Linked DNA regions of Homo sapiens: regions 2, 3, 4 and 5 are each linked to region 1. The links are contacts of gene promoters, found by promoter capture Hi-C in blood cells and fetal thymus (Javierre and others, 2016). All regions are on one chromosome and are shown on one strand. Each heading gives the region's core, a stretch centred on a gene start or on the middle of the fragment in contact. The rest is flanking DNA. Distances are from core to core; before and after follow the strand shown. Region 1 holds the start of TMEM70 (transmembrane protein 70). Region 2 holds the start of SNX16 (sorting nexin 16). Region 3 overlaps ZFAND1 (zinc finger AN1-type containing 1). Region 4 holds the start of MYBL1 (MYB proto-oncogene like 1). Region 5 holds the start of VCPIP1 (valosin containing protein interacting protein 1).

What was found. The method cuts DNA at HindIII sites, captures the fragments that hold promoters and counts their contacts. A CHiCAGO score of 5 or more calls a contact.
Region 2: a contact is called between the fragment with the promoter of SNX16 here and the fragment with the promoter of TMEM70 in region 1, in 2 of 17 cell types (neutrophils and non-activated CD4 T cells). The highest score is 9.0, in neutrophils.
Region 3: a contact is called between a fragment that was not itself captured here and the fragment with the promoter of TMEM70 in region 1, in 1 of 17 cell types (non-activated CD4 T cells). The highest score is 6.0, in non-activated CD4 T cells.
Region 4: a contact is called between the fragment with the promoter of MYBL1 here and the fragment with the promoter of TMEM70 in region 1, in 1 of 17 cell types (non-activated CD4 T cells). The highest score is 5.2, in non-activated CD4 T cells.
Region 5: a contact is called between the fragment with the promoter of VCPIP1 here and the fragment with the promoter of TMEM70 in region 1, in 1 of 17 cell types (M0 macrophages). The highest score is 6.2, in M0 macrophages.

Annotation. Positions count from the first base shown.
Region 1 is chr8:73,974,809-73,977,806 of GRCh38, forward strand. TMEM70 (transmembrane protein 70) reads left to right here and starts at 1,387. Exons shown (of 3, transcript NM_017866.6): 1 at 1,387-1,683. The coding sequence starts at 1,474. RefSeq lists silencers at 1,176-1,255, 1,305-1,520, 1,686-1,735. The HindIII fragment of the contact is 7,182 bases long and covers 1-1,971 here.
Region 2 is chr8:81,840,780-81,843,777 of GRCh38, forward strand. SNX16 (sorting nexin 16) reads right to left here and starts at 1,406. Exons shown (of 8, transcript NM_152836.3): 1 at 1,343-1,406. LINC02235 (long intergenic non-protein coding RNA 2235) reads left to right here and starts at 1,840. Exons shown (of 8, transcript NR_170320.1): 1 at 1,840-1,892. RefSeq lists enhancers at 480-1,412, 1,340-1,389, 1,821-2,090 and a silencer at 960-1,009. The HindIII fragment of the contact is 7,243 bases long and covers 1-2,998 here.
Region 3 is chr8:81,717,772-81,720,769 of GRCh38, forward strand. It overlaps ZFAND1 (zinc finger AN1-type containing 1), which reads right to left. Exons shown (of 8, transcript NM_024699.3): 2 at 411-453. Among named protein-coding and RNA genes, the nearest start is that of ZFAND1, 2.0 kb to the right of the region's middle. RefSeq lists an enhancer at 2,563-2,998. The HindIII fragment of the contact is 1,170 bases long and covers 969-2,138 here.
Region 4 is chr8:66,611,683-66,614,680 of GRCh38, forward strand. MYBL1 (MYB proto-oncogene like 1) reads right to left here and starts at 1,536. Exons shown (of 16, transcript NM_001080416.4): 1 at 1,137-1,536. The coding sequence starts at 1,156. It overlaps LOC105375884 (a long non-coding RNA gene), which reads left to right and starts at 1,867. Exons shown (of 2, transcript XR_929015.3): 1 at 1,867-1,970; 2 at 2,363-2,998. RefSeq lists a silencer at 1,303-1,822 and enhancers at 2,053-2,192, 2,243-2,322, 2,333-2,382. The HindIII fragment of the contact is 2,770 bases long and covers 13-2,782 here.
Region 5 is chr8:66,665,788-66,668,785 of GRCh38, forward strand. VCPIP1 (valosin containing protein interacting protein 1) reads right to left here and starts at 1,444. Exons shown (of 3, transcript NM_025054.5): 1 at 1-1,444. The coding sequence starts at 1,171. C8orf44-SGK3 (C8orf44-SGK3 readthrough) reads left to right here and starts at 1,809. Exons shown (of 19, transcript NM_001204173.2): 1 at 1,809-1,914. C8orf44 (chromosome 8 putative open reading frame 44) reads left to right here and starts at 1,809. Exons shown (of 2, transcript NR_161217.1): 1 at 1,809-1,914. RefSeq lists enhancers at 332-391, 642-1,161, 1,532-2,041. The HindIII fragment of the contact is 1,085 bases long and covers 729-1,813 here.

The sequences.
Region 1 (2,998 bases), core at 137-2,636:
CTACAGGCAGGTGCCACCATGCCCAGCTAATTTAAAAATTTTTTGTAGAGACAGGGTCTCACTTTGTTGCCCAGGCTGGTCTCAAACTCCTGGAATCAAGTGATCCTCTCACCTGGGCCTCCACGTAGTATTGGAATTGCAGGCGTGAGCTCCCGCCCCTGGCCACACATTATTTTAGACTATGAATTTGTTCCTCTCCGGTGCAAATAACATGTCAAATCAAAAACATGTATAGTTCTGCAGTGGTAAACAAAAGTGTGTTTCTATTACTAAGATGCTCATCCTTCAAGACTGAGCTAAATGTGAAGCCAGTCTGAAGACATTCTGAGGCAAAATTAATCATGTTCTTCTTTGTACTTCTGTGGCATTTGTTTGTTCTTTTTTTTGAGACACGGTGTCACTTTGTGGTCCAGGCTGGAGTGCAGTAGTGTGGTCTTGGCTCACTGAAGCCTCGACTTTGGGCTCAAGCAATCCTACCATGTCAGCCTCCTGGGTAGCTGGGACCACAGGCACACACTTACCATGTGTGGCTTATTTTTGTTTTAGGTTTTTTTTTTTTTTTTTTTTTTGTAGAGACGGGGTCTCCCTGTATTGCTCAGGCTGGTCTCAAACTCCTGGCCTCAAGAGATCTTCCTGCCTAAACCTCCCAAAGCGCTGGGATTACAGGTGTAAGCCACCACGGCCAGCCACATTTTGTATATTGCGGTGTCTCAATTGTATTACATTATATTCTAGCCAATTTTCAGGTATTTTCCTCCACTGTTTAAGCACTGTGGATTCCCAGTTTAATCTAGTATTTTGTATCCTCTGCTCCTAGCTCAGTCCTGGCAATAGATTCAGTACCTCTTTAACAAGTAATGAATCAATGTGTATATGGATGTGAATGATTTCCGAAGACAAATCTGGTAACACCTATCAATATTACATGAACAATTCCATTTATTTTCCTCCAACCCGATGATTCAATTAAGTTATCACTCATTTTTGTTCAAATCGTATATTCTTTCTTCTGTGCCAACAGGCTAGAATCATTTTCCGCAAAGGAAACAGTTTTTAGTGATGTCGTCCACGAGAAAAAAAAATATTTAACCCTGGCTTCTGGGCATTGTCATTCTCGTACAGCCCTCTGCCCCTCCACACTGTTATAAAGAAGGTAAAATTCTAGGAAGGAGGAGCCGCTGAGCCAAGGACAGAGCGGCGGGCTCCCAGCTCAGCTGGCGGATAACGCGCGCGGCCGGGAAGGCGGCAGGCGGGCGGCAGGCGGGCGGCAGGCGGGCGGCAGGCGGGCGGCAGGCGGGCGGCAGGCGGGCGGCAGGCGGGCGGCAGATTCTGCGCACGCGCAGGCAGCCCAGCTGCCAGTCAGGCGTCCCGGGCTGGGCATGCGCCACTTGTGCGGCAGTCGGGTGGGAAGCCGTGTCTCGCAGTCGTGGACTCGTGCAGCTGGGGCGTCCGCAGCCGCTCGTCACCCGCGTGATGCTGTTTCTGGCGTTGGGCAGCCCGTGGGCGGTCGAACTGCCTCTCTGCGGAAGGAGGACTGCATTGTGTGCGGCCGCCGCGCTCCGAGGTCCCCGGGCCTCTGTCTCCCGGGCGTCCTCCAGCAGCGGGCCTTCGGGGCCGGTAGCCGGCTGGAGTACGGGGCCTTCGGGAGCCGCGCGCCTTCTCCGGCGTCCGGGTCGAGCGCAGGTAGGGCGTCCGAGGTCTGGTGTCCCAAGTGAGGCGGGGAGGGCGGGCGTCGTGTCGGGCCTGGGGAGCCCCAGCGGCTCTTCGCGACCTCTCCCAGGTGTCCGTGGCTGGAGCGCGGGAGGAGCCCCCTCTGCGGGGCTTGCAGAAGTAGCAGGCCGAGGGCCCCGGGGTCCTCAGCCTCCGCGAGTCCAGGAGAACGGCTGGAAAGTGCTTACTTTTATGGTAGTTCCAAATCCAGAGGGTTTGTGGTGACAACTATATGTAGTTCCTTTTCTGCCCTTGAGTAGAAGCTTAGAAGTGTTAATTTGCAAAAAATTGGATGCAGCACCTGGAAATAGAACCGAAAGAGCCAGGTTAACCTGACTTTGAGCTTGTTCTACTTTTATGAGGTGGCTGTACTTTTAAGAATTACTTTGGTCCCTGGGAAAAGGGGGATGCAGATGTTAATTCTTTTATTTTGATCTGAATAAATTGTCTTCTAATTCTACTCTGTAAAATATCAGGATTGGCAAACCTGGTTAAAACTTGGAAGAAATGCTTAAAATGGAAATTGGAATCTAATTACATTTCAGCATTGAGGAATTAGGCATGCCTTTTACATTTTGAAGTGTATACACTGTGAAACTCATTTTCAGATGTATGGGGAACGCTTCTGTTCCCTTGAAATTTGATGTAGGATTTCAAGTAAATTTTATTTCTTTTTTTTTGGAGGTGAAGTCTCGCTCTGTCACCCTGGTTGGAGTGCAGTGACGTGATCTTGGCTCACTGCAACCTCCGCCTTCCGGGTTCAAGCGATTCTCCTGCCTCAGCCTCCCCAGTAGTTGGGATTACAGGCGCGCTCCACCACACCCCGGCTGATTTTTTTTTTGTATTTTTAGTAGAGACGGGGTTTCACCGTGTTGGCCAGGCTCGTCTTAAACTCCTGACCTCAAATCATCCTCCTGCCTCGGCCTGTCAAAGGGTTGGGATTACAGGCGTGAGCCGCTGTGCCCAGCCAAATTTTATTTCTTGTCAAGAAATAAGAGGACCAGGGGATACACGGTATTTACAAGGTCTTTAGAGAAAGATTTGATCTCTTTAATACTATCATATAAATATTTTAGCAGTATTTGTAAAAGGCCTGGACTTTAAATATAATGTGAGTTTGCGGAGTATTTTACTTAAATTATTTTAGTAAAATTAAATTTTATTTCTTAGAGATGGGGTCTTGCCATGTTGCCCAGGCTGGCCTTAAACTCCTGGGCTCAAGTGATCCACCTCAGCCTCCCCAGTAGCTGGGGCTATAGACGTGTTCCATTACACCAGCTAAATGTAT
Region 2 (2,998 bases), core at 156-2,655, 7.9 Mb after region 1:
GGTATTTAAATCTTTATAACTTACACTCAAGAATCTGTTATCAAACGGACCAGTATATCTTGTGTCAGAATAGTATCATAACACAAAGAAGAAATGGTTTACTATTACTTTGTTAAATAATAAACTCATAAGAAACTGTAACAACTACAGACCAACAAAATGACAAGACTACACACAACAATAACTGCCCAACTTTTCATACGAAACTCTACTGGTGGGAAAGGTAAGAAATGAGTCACCTGGACTTGGAAAGATGCTGAAATAAGATTTTTAACTCTGGGCTGGGCGCTGTGGCTCACGCCTGTAATCCCAGCACTTTGGGAGGATGAAGCGGGTGGATCGCCTGAGGTCAGGAGTTCGAGGCTAGCCTGGCCAACATGGTGAAACCCCGTCTCTACTAAAAATACAAAAATTAGCCGGGCATGGTGGCGCAGGCCTATAATCCCAGCTACTTGGGAGGCTGAGGCAGGAGAATCGCTTGAACCCGGGAGGCGGAGGTTGCAGTTTGCCGAGATCGTGCCATTGCACTCCAGCCTGGGCTACAAGAGGAAAACTCCGTCTCAAAAAAAAAAAAAAAAAAGATTTTTAACTCAAGTGGCTCTCGGCAACATTTCCCCATTATCAAAGATTCATGAAACTTTAGCTGCTGATTCACCGCTCCTCGGTTCCGCCTGACGGCCTCCCCAAAAACAAGTAAGTCTGAAATCTCAACCTTCTCAAGGTCCGAGGGATCTACCTGGCCTTTGCCACTCTACTACCTGAGGCCGCCTGGCTGGGGGGAGGTCGCATATCAATACATATCAACACAACCACTGACGTCCGAAGATGTGAGCGCTACCCAAGCGTTAAAAAAACAAAACAAGCAAACAAACAAACAAAAAAACGTGCTGTGCTCATTAGGAGCGTCTTCGCCTCTACCCTGATGCGGAGTTGCTCCCAGGACGCTCAGTTCATTCTCACTCTGGAAAACCTCAGGTGAGGTGGCCCGACTCTGAGCAACCCCGTGGGCGGGAGGAAAGAGGCAAATACCAGGCACAGTTCGACCCTCGGAAGGTAAGGCCGGGGTCTGCGCCGGTCACGGGTCTTCCGCACTGCAGGCGGCGAGACCCGCAGCTCCCTGGGATCACAGACTCTCCCGCCTCCGCTGACCGGTGCGCGCCCAGCGCCTCCCAGACGCACAGTGGGGTCGGCGGTGGCCTGAAGGTGGCTGGGCTTCCTGCGGCGCCTCTCCACTCTCCCGCGGAGCCCCTTGCCGCCCGCCAGACATCAAGGTTGCAGGTGTCACCCGTACGAGAACCCGGGACAGCGACCGCCTGTCCTGAGGTAATGACCCAGTCTTTACCTCAGCCCCCTCGGCGATCCCGAACGAGCGCGCTTCCCGGTGACGGTTAAACCGGACTCTCCTTAACCGCAGCTTTTCGCCTCCTCCCTCAGCAGCGAGAAGCCTCACGTGACACCCCCGCCCCAAAAGCAGCTGCTCCCCGCCTCAGCCAGTCTCTGCCCGGGCCCAAGATCCCTGCTGTGTGGAAGGAGGGGCCGAACTGGGCGGGGGGGGGGGGGGGGGGAGAGAGAGAGAGAGAGAGGGAGGGAGGGAGGGAGGGAGGGAGAGAGAGAGAGAGAGAGAGAGAGAGAGAGAGAGAGAGACAGAGACAGAGAGAAAGAGAGAGAGAGAGGGCAAGAGCGAGAGACAGAGAGAGAGAGAGAGAGAGAGAGAGAGAGAGAGAGAGAGAGAGAGAGAGAGAGAGAAAGAGAAAGAAAACGAGCGAGGGAGAGAGCGAGAGCGAGAGAGAGAGAGAGAGAGCGTCACACACACATCTCTGCCGGAAGTGATGTCACGGCATGGGCGCCCGCCCACCGGAGGAGCGACTGGAGTTGATCGGCTGGGCGCTCAGGTAGCGAAGATAAATGTAATCTTGTGGCAGGAAATCGACATTCTCTGCACTATCTTTAGTTTTCCAACTGAACTTCTGAGAAATGGAGGCTACAATACCTAGTTTGCCAAACAGGAGAAGACTACAATTCCCAGAAGGAACTGCGACCAACATTGGTCCGTGCTCATACTTTGCATCATGGGACTTGTAGTCATCACCAGCTTGCGCTGATTCTAACAGGTTATAGATTGTTTTCTAGAATTAGCAGCGCTTTAAGGGATGACAATCGATTAGAAGAGTAGGAAGATAGAACACTGCTTAGTAGCTGATCCGTTCTACATAATTCAGAAGTTCTCATTGGCAGAGAACCCCTGAAATTCTGTAGTGTCTTTTTACTATCCGGTGAGCAATTTGATCCCGATGATGGAATATTAGCCTTGTTAGACATGCGCTTCTGAAGACCTGTGCAGTAGGGAAAGCCGAGTTTTTTGATAGGCAAATCCCAAGATTCAGACCGGTCTACAGGTCTGTTCATCATTAGAATCAGATAATGTGGTTGAAAAATCATTCCACGATTTCTAAGGCTTTTGTATAGTCCCAATGTTACCCATGGAGGGTCTTGACTACAAGTCATCCAGGTTCTTGGTTTTTTTAACAAAGAATTGGACAAAACGCACAAAGAAAGCAAGGAAAGAATGAAGCAAGGAAAGCAGAGATTGAAATGACTGTACACTCCACAGAGTGGGAATGGCCTCCAGCCAGTGGCTCAAGAGCCCTGGTTACAGGATTTTCTGGAGTTTAAATATCCGCTAGAGATTTCCCATTGGTTACTTGGTTTACACCCTCTGTAAATTAAGGAGTAGCCTGCAACCAATCAGAGGCTAAAGTTAAGTTACAAAGTTGTACTCCTATGGAAATGAAGACTAGGCCCAGATACCAAGGGCCTAGAAGGTTGGGCAGGGGGTTGCAAAGGGAATAGCCTCTGGTCTTTTTGTTACTTGGGCTTGGAAAGTTGGAGTTTTCCTTTTGATTTAGTTCTAGGAAGTCAGCGTGAATGGGCCTTAGGTTCCCTGCCTCCGGACCCTATTCTACTGCCCGACTAAGAGTGAGAAAAGGTGATAGTGGTC
Region 3 (2,998 bases), core at 304-2,803, 7.7 Mb after region 1:
ATTCTTCATTAATTCCCAGGTTTTACTTGGCATGTAATGTAGTCAAATGCTGTGATTCCTATTTTAAGGCATTTATAGGTTGGGCTCTTTTCATTTTATTAATTAAAATAAAGAGCAATAATTATAACTGGATCTTTACCATATTCTTTATATTGTGAATATTATTTTCTCCTTGTAATTAAAAGACAAAAATATAACTTTTATATAAAATTCACATACATAACCCCACTTTTGGAAGTTTAAAAATCAGTCATATATATGGAGAAGTAATCAGAGTCTATAACTATACTGAATATCAATAATCAATGGCTAAAGTAACAATTATTTTAAATCATTCTACTTTTCAGAAATAACCTCATATTAATAAACACTAAAATTACTCCCAAATCCTGCATAAAAACTTAACTTACCAAAATATTCCTGAACAATCATCACACACAAATGGAAGAAAATCTAAAATTGAGAGAAAATGTATATACTGGTCAGTATCTGATTTTGATTTAGTTTTCTTAAGCAAGAAGACAACCTCTATGGAAAAACTTCCCATTTTGACTAATATCCTAGTGTAGCAAGCACTATGTAACCACTCTAACAAAATTAATCACAACTTCAATAACTGACAGAAAGTAATTGGATTAACATAAGGTATTAATAGATGTTACTTGTAACTTTACTAAGTCAGACAAAAATAAGTTCTAGTGGTTTTCTTTTTCTTTTTTGTTTTGTTTCCCAGATTTACTAGGTGTTGTTTTTGATGACTGTATACTGCAAAAATTCCGCATTTGGAGTGAAAAACCTGGGATTCAATTCTGATTCCACTGCTTACTAATCTAACAGTGCTAGGCAAGTTACTTAACAGTAAAACTTTGGATATATATATTTTTATATATATCCAATAAATATATATATTTATATCTGTGTACTAATATATATGTGTGTGAACAACATATATATATATATATCGCCAAAGCTTGACTATATTCAAATATATTTATATTTATATATACACCTATAAGATTTATGGTATTTCAAATATATATAATTTGATGTAATATATAGTACAGTTAGTATAAAGTATATGTGTGTGTGTTTCTATATATGTATGTAAATAAACATATACAAAACCAAAGCTCTTTTATTGGGTAAGAAAAATAGAAAGATATAGACAGGTAGATACAGAGACAGATATAAAGATACAAGCACATCCTTTCTGTGTATATATGTATATGTGTGTATGCATGTGTATCTATATCTGTATCTATGCTGTATGCCACACCGACCTCACAGTGTACTTACAGAAACCAAATGAGATATATATGAAAGATCAGAATAGTAATACAGTAACTATAATTAATAAGAATAATACAACAATTAACTTCTTTTGAGTATACTCAACTCAGAACAGTACTGCAAGGGGCCAGGCACAGTGGCTTAAGCCTGTAATCCCAGCACTTTGGGAGGCCGAGGGGGGCGGATCACCTGAGGTCAAGAGTTTGAAAACAGCCTGGCCAACATGGCGAAACCCCATCTCTACTGAAAACACACACACACACACACACACACACACACACACACACACACACAAATTAGCTGGGCGTGGTGGTTCATGCCTGTAATTCCAGCTACTCAAGAGGCTGAGGCAGGAGAATCGCTTGAATTCAGGAGGCAGAGGTTGCAGAGGGCCGAGATCGCGCCACTGCACTCCATCCTGGGTGACAGAGCCAGACTCCATCTCAAAACAAAACAAACAAACAAACAAAAAAGGACAATACTGCAGTGACTGGGTGGAGATGCTTAATATTTTGCGACTTTTAATAATCAAGTATTAGATGCAAACCAGAAGGACCCAGGGGAAAGAGTTAAGTCAAGACAACTTCCCAGCACCTGATACCATCCTTCAATCCCTCCAGAAGGTAGATAAAATTTAGGATATACACTTGACGTAGTCTAAATCTTAACTGCTTTCCACTAGTCCCAAACAGATAGGCCTGGCCTCATCTCAGTTATTGACACTAAAGACATATATAGCTGGAAAGGAAAATGAACTATGTCATGAATGGCATATAATGTGTATTGGACTCACTAGCGAAGGATCAGGCATAGACACACATAATTCACAGTCAAAACCCAAATGGCTAAGCTTCCACATGAAAAAAGTCACACTGGCTTGTTATTACAGCCAGTGGTGAAAGATAGATAGATAGATGGCTATAAGTAACAAGAACCTAGAAGGGATTGTGTCACCTGTCCTATCACGCATTCCCACAGTAGAAATCACTAATCAATTATGGAACTCCACTGAAACTGGGCTAAATCTCAAGAGTCTTTGACACGGTAATTCAGGCACTTGATACCAATGACTGAAGTTCCAAGGGGAGATTAAACCTGTTTGCTACCTTATGTAGTGTGTGAAACCTAGTAACAACGACTGAGCAGTCTGTGTGGTTCTAATGCTTCAAAAACTTGCCTTTTCAAGGTGTATGGCATCCTGAAGCCAATGCCACATCACCTTGGACTAGGTATATCCCAAGGTCTCTCAGTGCAATGGGGAGAGCCCATTGCCATATTATTAACTAATTCTCTCTAAAATGCAGCTTACTAGTTGGAAAGGTCTTCCGTGTAAAAGACTGTAGTTTACACCCTTATGTGGTCCAAGCACCAAAATCAATAATCTGTAAATGTTTGTTCAAACAATAATAATGAGAATCAGGGAATGACAGAGCTGGGAGAGCATGATGACCATTTGGTGGAATAATCTGAGGATCAGGATGCCTTTGAGAATTTGATAAAAGCTAAGGAAGGGCCTTCTTCCGGACACACATCCACGTGAACACTAGTTGGGCGAGTTGACCTCCCCCAACTCCTCCTGACAGCTACGTAACAGATAAGTAAAAAAAAGTATGGGAAAGTAGCTGGCCGTAGGTCGCAGTGGCAAAGCCAAAAGACAACAGTCCCAGACCAAACCTACGCGTCCCCATACCCGCGCTCAGCAGAGTAA
Region 4 (2,998 bases), core at 286-2,785, 7.4 Mb before region 1:
TCAAAACTAATAAGCTTACAGAGACTTAAGGATTTCTGCAGAAGCATCCTGCACACAGCAGATGCTTAACAGAAAACTAAGGAAAAAACAATTATGTATAGTTACTGCCAATTTTTAGCAGAACTCTGCAATGAATGACCCCCATTACTAAATTTCAACTTAGGAAATACATCTCTAGTTAAGATTTTGGGGCTGTGGATCTAGATAAATAAATATTTGGAAATCCTGCCAAACATCTTTTCAGGTTTATTTGATAATGCTGAAAATCGGAAGACATCCTATATTTTTGTTATCTAAGCAATTACTCCACATAATTTATGAGTAGCTGCTGTAATGGCATGTAAACGAAAATTAGATGCATAAATTCATCCTAGCACATTTTCCAGGCAAAGGTGGAAAAAAGTGCCTTACCTCTGTGGAACACTTAGGTACGGTCAGAGCCAAACACAGACACTCAAAATATTAAGTGAATCAAACACATTGTTTTATTTCAAGATCAAGCTACTAGTTGTTACTACTAGTTGTTACTATGTGACATGGTCCCAAGAGAGGATATTAAAATATACATATATACATAAAGCTGAGCATATGGGTATAGGAATTACAGAAAACATCAAAAAAGTCCTCTCAGCTATTCCCCAGAGGATTTTCCACAACGTTTCAAGATAGCCAAGTTGGCAGAGGGGTGGCCGCCCAGGTTCACCGCGGAGTTCCTATTTTGACTGTACCGTCATTCAGAAAAGAGTCGCCCGAACACCATTTTCAAGTCCTCCCGGCAGGACACAGTCAGTTTTCTCTGCGTAGCGGACTCCCTAAAAGCGCTCGACTTACCTGGCAAGAAACCTGCCTCGAAGAAGTGGCAGCATGAGGTCAGAAATCTGGACGCGCATTACGGGGAGAGTCACCGAGAAACCTGGGCATCTCTTACGTCCCGCGCCTCAAACACCCTGGTCCCCAACTCTCCACACGTCGCAGCTGCCCTCCGGTCATCGAGGCCAAGCGGCCGCGGGGACGCGGGAAGAAAAACCTCTGCCCTCGCCAGGGAGGGCCTTATGGCGGGAGGGGGCAGCGGGATAGGAAAGAGAATCTGAGCCGAGACGGCGCCGACAGGCCTGGGCGAAAGGGGTGCCACCCACCTGCGCGACCTCTTCGCCATCCTTCAAGTACCGCATAGGAGCAGGCTGGGCGGGGACGCGGGTCAGCCTCCTCCAGCCTCCGGCGAATGCTCCTTCTCCCCGATCCTCTAGCCGCTTCCCTCGCTCCCTCTGGAGGCGGCCGAGTGCGGAACGCACGTCCTCGACAGGGCAGGACGGAGGGACAGCGGGGGCGGACCGCGACCCGACCCCGACCCCGGCCCGCAGCGCCGCTCTTAGCCCCGGCCCGGCCCGGCCAGGGATACCCCCAACATGTCAGGAGGCGCGATCCCGCCCTCCGCCGGCTTCTCCCGCCGCTTGTCAGCCTCCCTGCCCTGGCCCCAGCCCGGCTCCGCCACAGGCGCCCGACCCCTGCCCTCTCCCCCGCAGCTAGCAGTTCTGCAGGGCTCGCAGTCTCCTGCAGGGTTTTGTCCGCACCGCCGAATCTCGCGCCCAGCCTCCCTCAAGAGCCGCCGTTTGAATCTGCGCACGCGGCCCTGAACCTCATTGGCTGTGGGGGCCGCACGCGAAGAAGCGAGGGCGGGGAGGGGAGAGCGCGCGCGGCTGAGGGCGGGGCTGGGGAGCTGGAAGCTGGGACTGGAACTCGCGGGAGTCGGGGAAGGAGCCGGGAGCCAGGGGGTGGGGCCGCGGGTGGGGCCGTAGGTGGCGCATGCGAGCCGAGCTGTCATAGGACCCGGAACGCGCCGAGAGGCGCACCGCGCGGGGCCTGCTGGGAGAGCGAGTTCCTGCGCTCGCCGAGGAGTGGGTCCGGAAGCGGCGCCGGAGCGGGTCCGGAAGCGGGCGGTGGAGAAGTCCAGTTGCCCCAAAATTCTTAGGGTGAGCGAACCGAGTTTCTGGCGGGGTGGGTGGTCCCGCGGCCCACCAAGGGAACGTCTCCGCAGCCTCGCCTCGGCGACAGCTCCTGGCTCCTTAGGTGTCTTCCGCCTCACTAGTTAGGATGCGCGGTCTTCAGACTTGAGACAAATCTAACCATAAATTTGCGCGGCCGTTATTTTTTAAGCAAAAATGTGAGCTATTTTTACCCAGACATCATAGTTACGAGAGTGACGAAGACTCTGGCAGGAAACCAAATATCACCTGTTTTCCTCAAAAAGCAGCAGAAGAGTGACAAGTGAAAAAAGTTCCTAGCGGGAGACGTGCTTGGAACCGGAGATAATCTGTGTCTACCGCTGGTCTTCAAGGTGCTTAATTTCGTGCCCGCTCTACAGGAAATAACGTGCGCGGCGGAGGAGCCCTGTCCTGGAGAATAACGCGTGAAGAAGACAGTGGACTGGGCATTTCGTCCAGATGAATGAGCATGGTAGTTAAGTGTAGAAGGTGACCTTCTTCCCTCTGGAGAGACCAGGGAGGGGGGAACCACCGGAGGAGTTTCTAGCGGTTGCAGCTACTTGAGGTTCCAGTCTAATAACTACGAACTGTTCATTTCAAGTAGCATTAAAGTAGATTTGCTACAGTAACAATTACACTTGGCTAAGGAAAATTTGCAAGGCAACATGGTCTATTGCATAGAGCACTGAGCCACATGTTAACACTGTAACAAACACTTGCTATTTTGAAATTTTACGCTTCATCTTTTGCAAATCAGATGCAGGTGCAGAGTGAATTAAGAGGAGCTGAATTAAGAGAGAAGCTTGCATGCACTGCTGTCAAAACCTAAACACACTGGCTTTTTTTTTTTTAACAGTTCCTTTTTTCAAGGTATAGATTCTGGGAAGGTAAGGGAAGATAAAACAGCTTTTCTTTTTCTCTCCTGTTTTTTTTTTTGTTGTTTTTTTTTTGAGACTAGGTCTCACTCTATTCCCCATGCTGGAGTGCAGTGGCACAATCATAGCTTACAGTAGCCT
Region 5 (2,998 bases), core at 194-2,693, 7.3 Mb before region 1:
GTTTTATGTACTTTTTAATAAGGTCCTGAGGCACACCCCATGCTTTAGGAAGCAAATTCATAGGCAGTTTGGGCAAAGCAGCCCCTTTTATGCCTACCAAGGGGATATAATGGTTTCTACCGGAGCTGCTCCATGCAATACAGATTGGTTTGTTCAAATGACCATCTTTCCCAGTGCACTTCTCTGCAGGGATGAGCCCAGGTAGAAAGGTGGCTGAATAATCACCAGAGCTTCTCATGCCACTGAGGGAATCTAACAGAATAATAGGACGATGTAGCACATTGGCAAGACCAAATATGTGGATATTCCTCAGGCCCAAGGGAACACCCTCAGGTGGTACAAACAGAGGGTCACACTCATTGATAATGTCCTCCCACTCAGCAGCATCAATGAAGTCATGGAACAGAGCTTGATATCGGGCCAGGTGCTGCTGAAAGTGCTGTTTAAGATTCTCTCTTAAGGCATGCCAGAAGAGCTCTCGGCCTACTAGAGCCCGAGACACAGCATGCACCAAGCAGTGTCCATCCCCGTCCACATGCACTGGAATGAGACATTCCTGGCTTTTATTGGCCCGCTTAATGTCCTCCAGAGTGTCATGCAAATACAGGAGGCTTCCGGAGCGGTCCTTGCCATAGCCCACAGTGTTAACATGCTCTGGTTCTATGAGGAAGGCGCGGTCACCCAGTAAGGCGCAATCGAACAGTTCGCCCTGGTTCATGTCCCGGAGAAGCTTGGCCCGGCCTGTCTGTTTGTCCATTCCATAGCGAGCTAATATGGGCGACAACAATTTGCAGTGATAGTTGGAAAGGCCCATCACCTTTACCAGTTCCGTGTTCTTCTTGGGTGCCCCCGTAACCCCGAGCAGCGCGTTCCGCAGCAGGTTGTGTAGCACTACGTCCGGGTCGGTCACCTCCTCAACCCCCAGCAGCTGTTGCTGCTCGTGCCGCTGGCCGCACTCGGTACACTCGATGCTGACAGAACCGGAGGCCGGGAAAAATAGACGCGCCTGACACTTCGGATCCGGGCAGCTCCCGGAAAGGATTCTCCGGTCTCTCCGCTTCAAAAGCCCCCCCGAAGCAGCCGCCGACGCCAAGGACGACGGAGTCTGTGGAGCCTCAGGGGGAGGAGGTGGCGGCGGCAACGGAGGCGGCGGCGGCGGCGGCTGAGACATAGCTCCTGGCTCTCGTGTCTCGCTCCGCGTCCCAGGCGACCCTCAAAAGCTCATAGCCCAGACCCCCACCAACCCGACTCGGTCCAGTCCAGGCCCAGGGCGAAGCACTTTCCTTTCCCTACCAGCTCTTCCTCCTCCTAAGCGAAGGCGGAAGCGCCGGACGTTGTTTCTCTTCTTACTTCTCCACTGCCGTAGCCGTTGCCCCGAACGTAACGGCCACCACCCCACCCCGCACTCACACTCACTCACTCTCGCTCTCTCTCCCTCAGACACAGACATACACGCCCTCATTGAGTGTGCGCAGGCGCAGCTTCCGCTCTGCCCTCTGGGAATTAGAGTCTTCCAGCCTCTGTGCTGGCCATCAAGCCCTAGGATCTTGAGTCCAGAAGGAACTACAAGTACCGTGAGGCCAAGCGGTTCAGCGCTAGAGGAGAGGAGGAAGAGGACGGCAACAGGAAAAGGGGCGAAAGAAAGATGGTGACTCGCGTTGCCTGCCGGTAGTTGTAGTTTTACTGGGCTCTCCTTCGTCGTCTTCCCCACTCTGCAGCCCAAGGCAAAGAGTCTGAGAGACCACATTTCCTAGGATGCCGTGCGGTGCGTCTAGCTGCACTTCCTCCTTAGGCGGAGGGGAGGATTCAGGGAAGCTTGGTTAAAAACAGTTATGGCAGTGGGAGTCGAAGCGAGGGTCTGAAGTTCACGACTACTAGAAGGGGAGGGGAGTGGAAAGGCTCTCAGTGAAAAAGGTACAGTAAATAAATGTCCAGGGATATTGGGGGCTGGGAAGTTGAATAAATGGTCTAATCTAGGCTGGAGGCCATAAGGGGGAAAACAGTTGATTCTCGGAAGCTCTGCCTTCTCCCCCTCTCTAGTGCGAATCACTGAGGCGCCATTTGATTTCTCGTTTCCTGCATGTTTTGGCAGTTTACAGTGCAAATAACGGTACCTTGGATGTCTGTAGAGTTTTGTGTGCATATACAAATTCTCTTAACTAGGTTTAATTTCATTTGCTCTTTACCACCCTACTCCCCAGAGAATAATAAGAGCCATCATGTGTTAAGTTCTTAATATGTGTCTGGACAGCATTTGCATAACACGATATCATTTGATCTTAAAAAATAACCTTCTTAGGAAACAGGCCCAGAAAGGAAATGACTTGCTAAAGTTCACGCAGCTGATAAGTGAGTGGATAGACATTCAGATCTCAACCTGTCTTCTTTTTACAGATCAGGACATAGGCAGGAAAGGTTAGGCCTGTATTACATAGAATAGTAACTAGCATTTGCTTACTATTGCCTTATAGTTTACATATTTAATAATATGTTCACATGTATCATCTCATCCTCACACCAGTCCTGTAATACCTTTACCAGGTGGTGTTGACTTCATTTACAATCAGGGAAACTGAGACTAAAAGGAATTAAGTGACTTGCCCAAGGTCAAGTCACCAGTTATGCTGGATCCCAATCTCAAACCTTGAGAGTGATTTTTACGCTGCTGCTTACCAAAAAATCCCGGCCGGGCGCGGTGGCTCACGCCTGTAGTCCCAGCACTTTGGGACGCTGAGGCGGATGCATCACGAAGTCAGGAGATCGAGACCATCCTGGCTAACATGGTGAAACCCCGTCTCTACTAAAAATACAAAAAAATTAGCCGGGCGTAGTGGCGGGCGCCTGTAGTCCCAGCTACTTGGGAGGCCGAGGCAGGAGAATGGCGTGAACCCGGGAGGCGGAGCTTGCAGTGAGCCGAGATCACGCCACTGCACTCCAGCCTGGGCGACAGAGCAAGACTCCGTCTCAAAAAAAAAAAAAAAACCCAAAATGTTAGGCT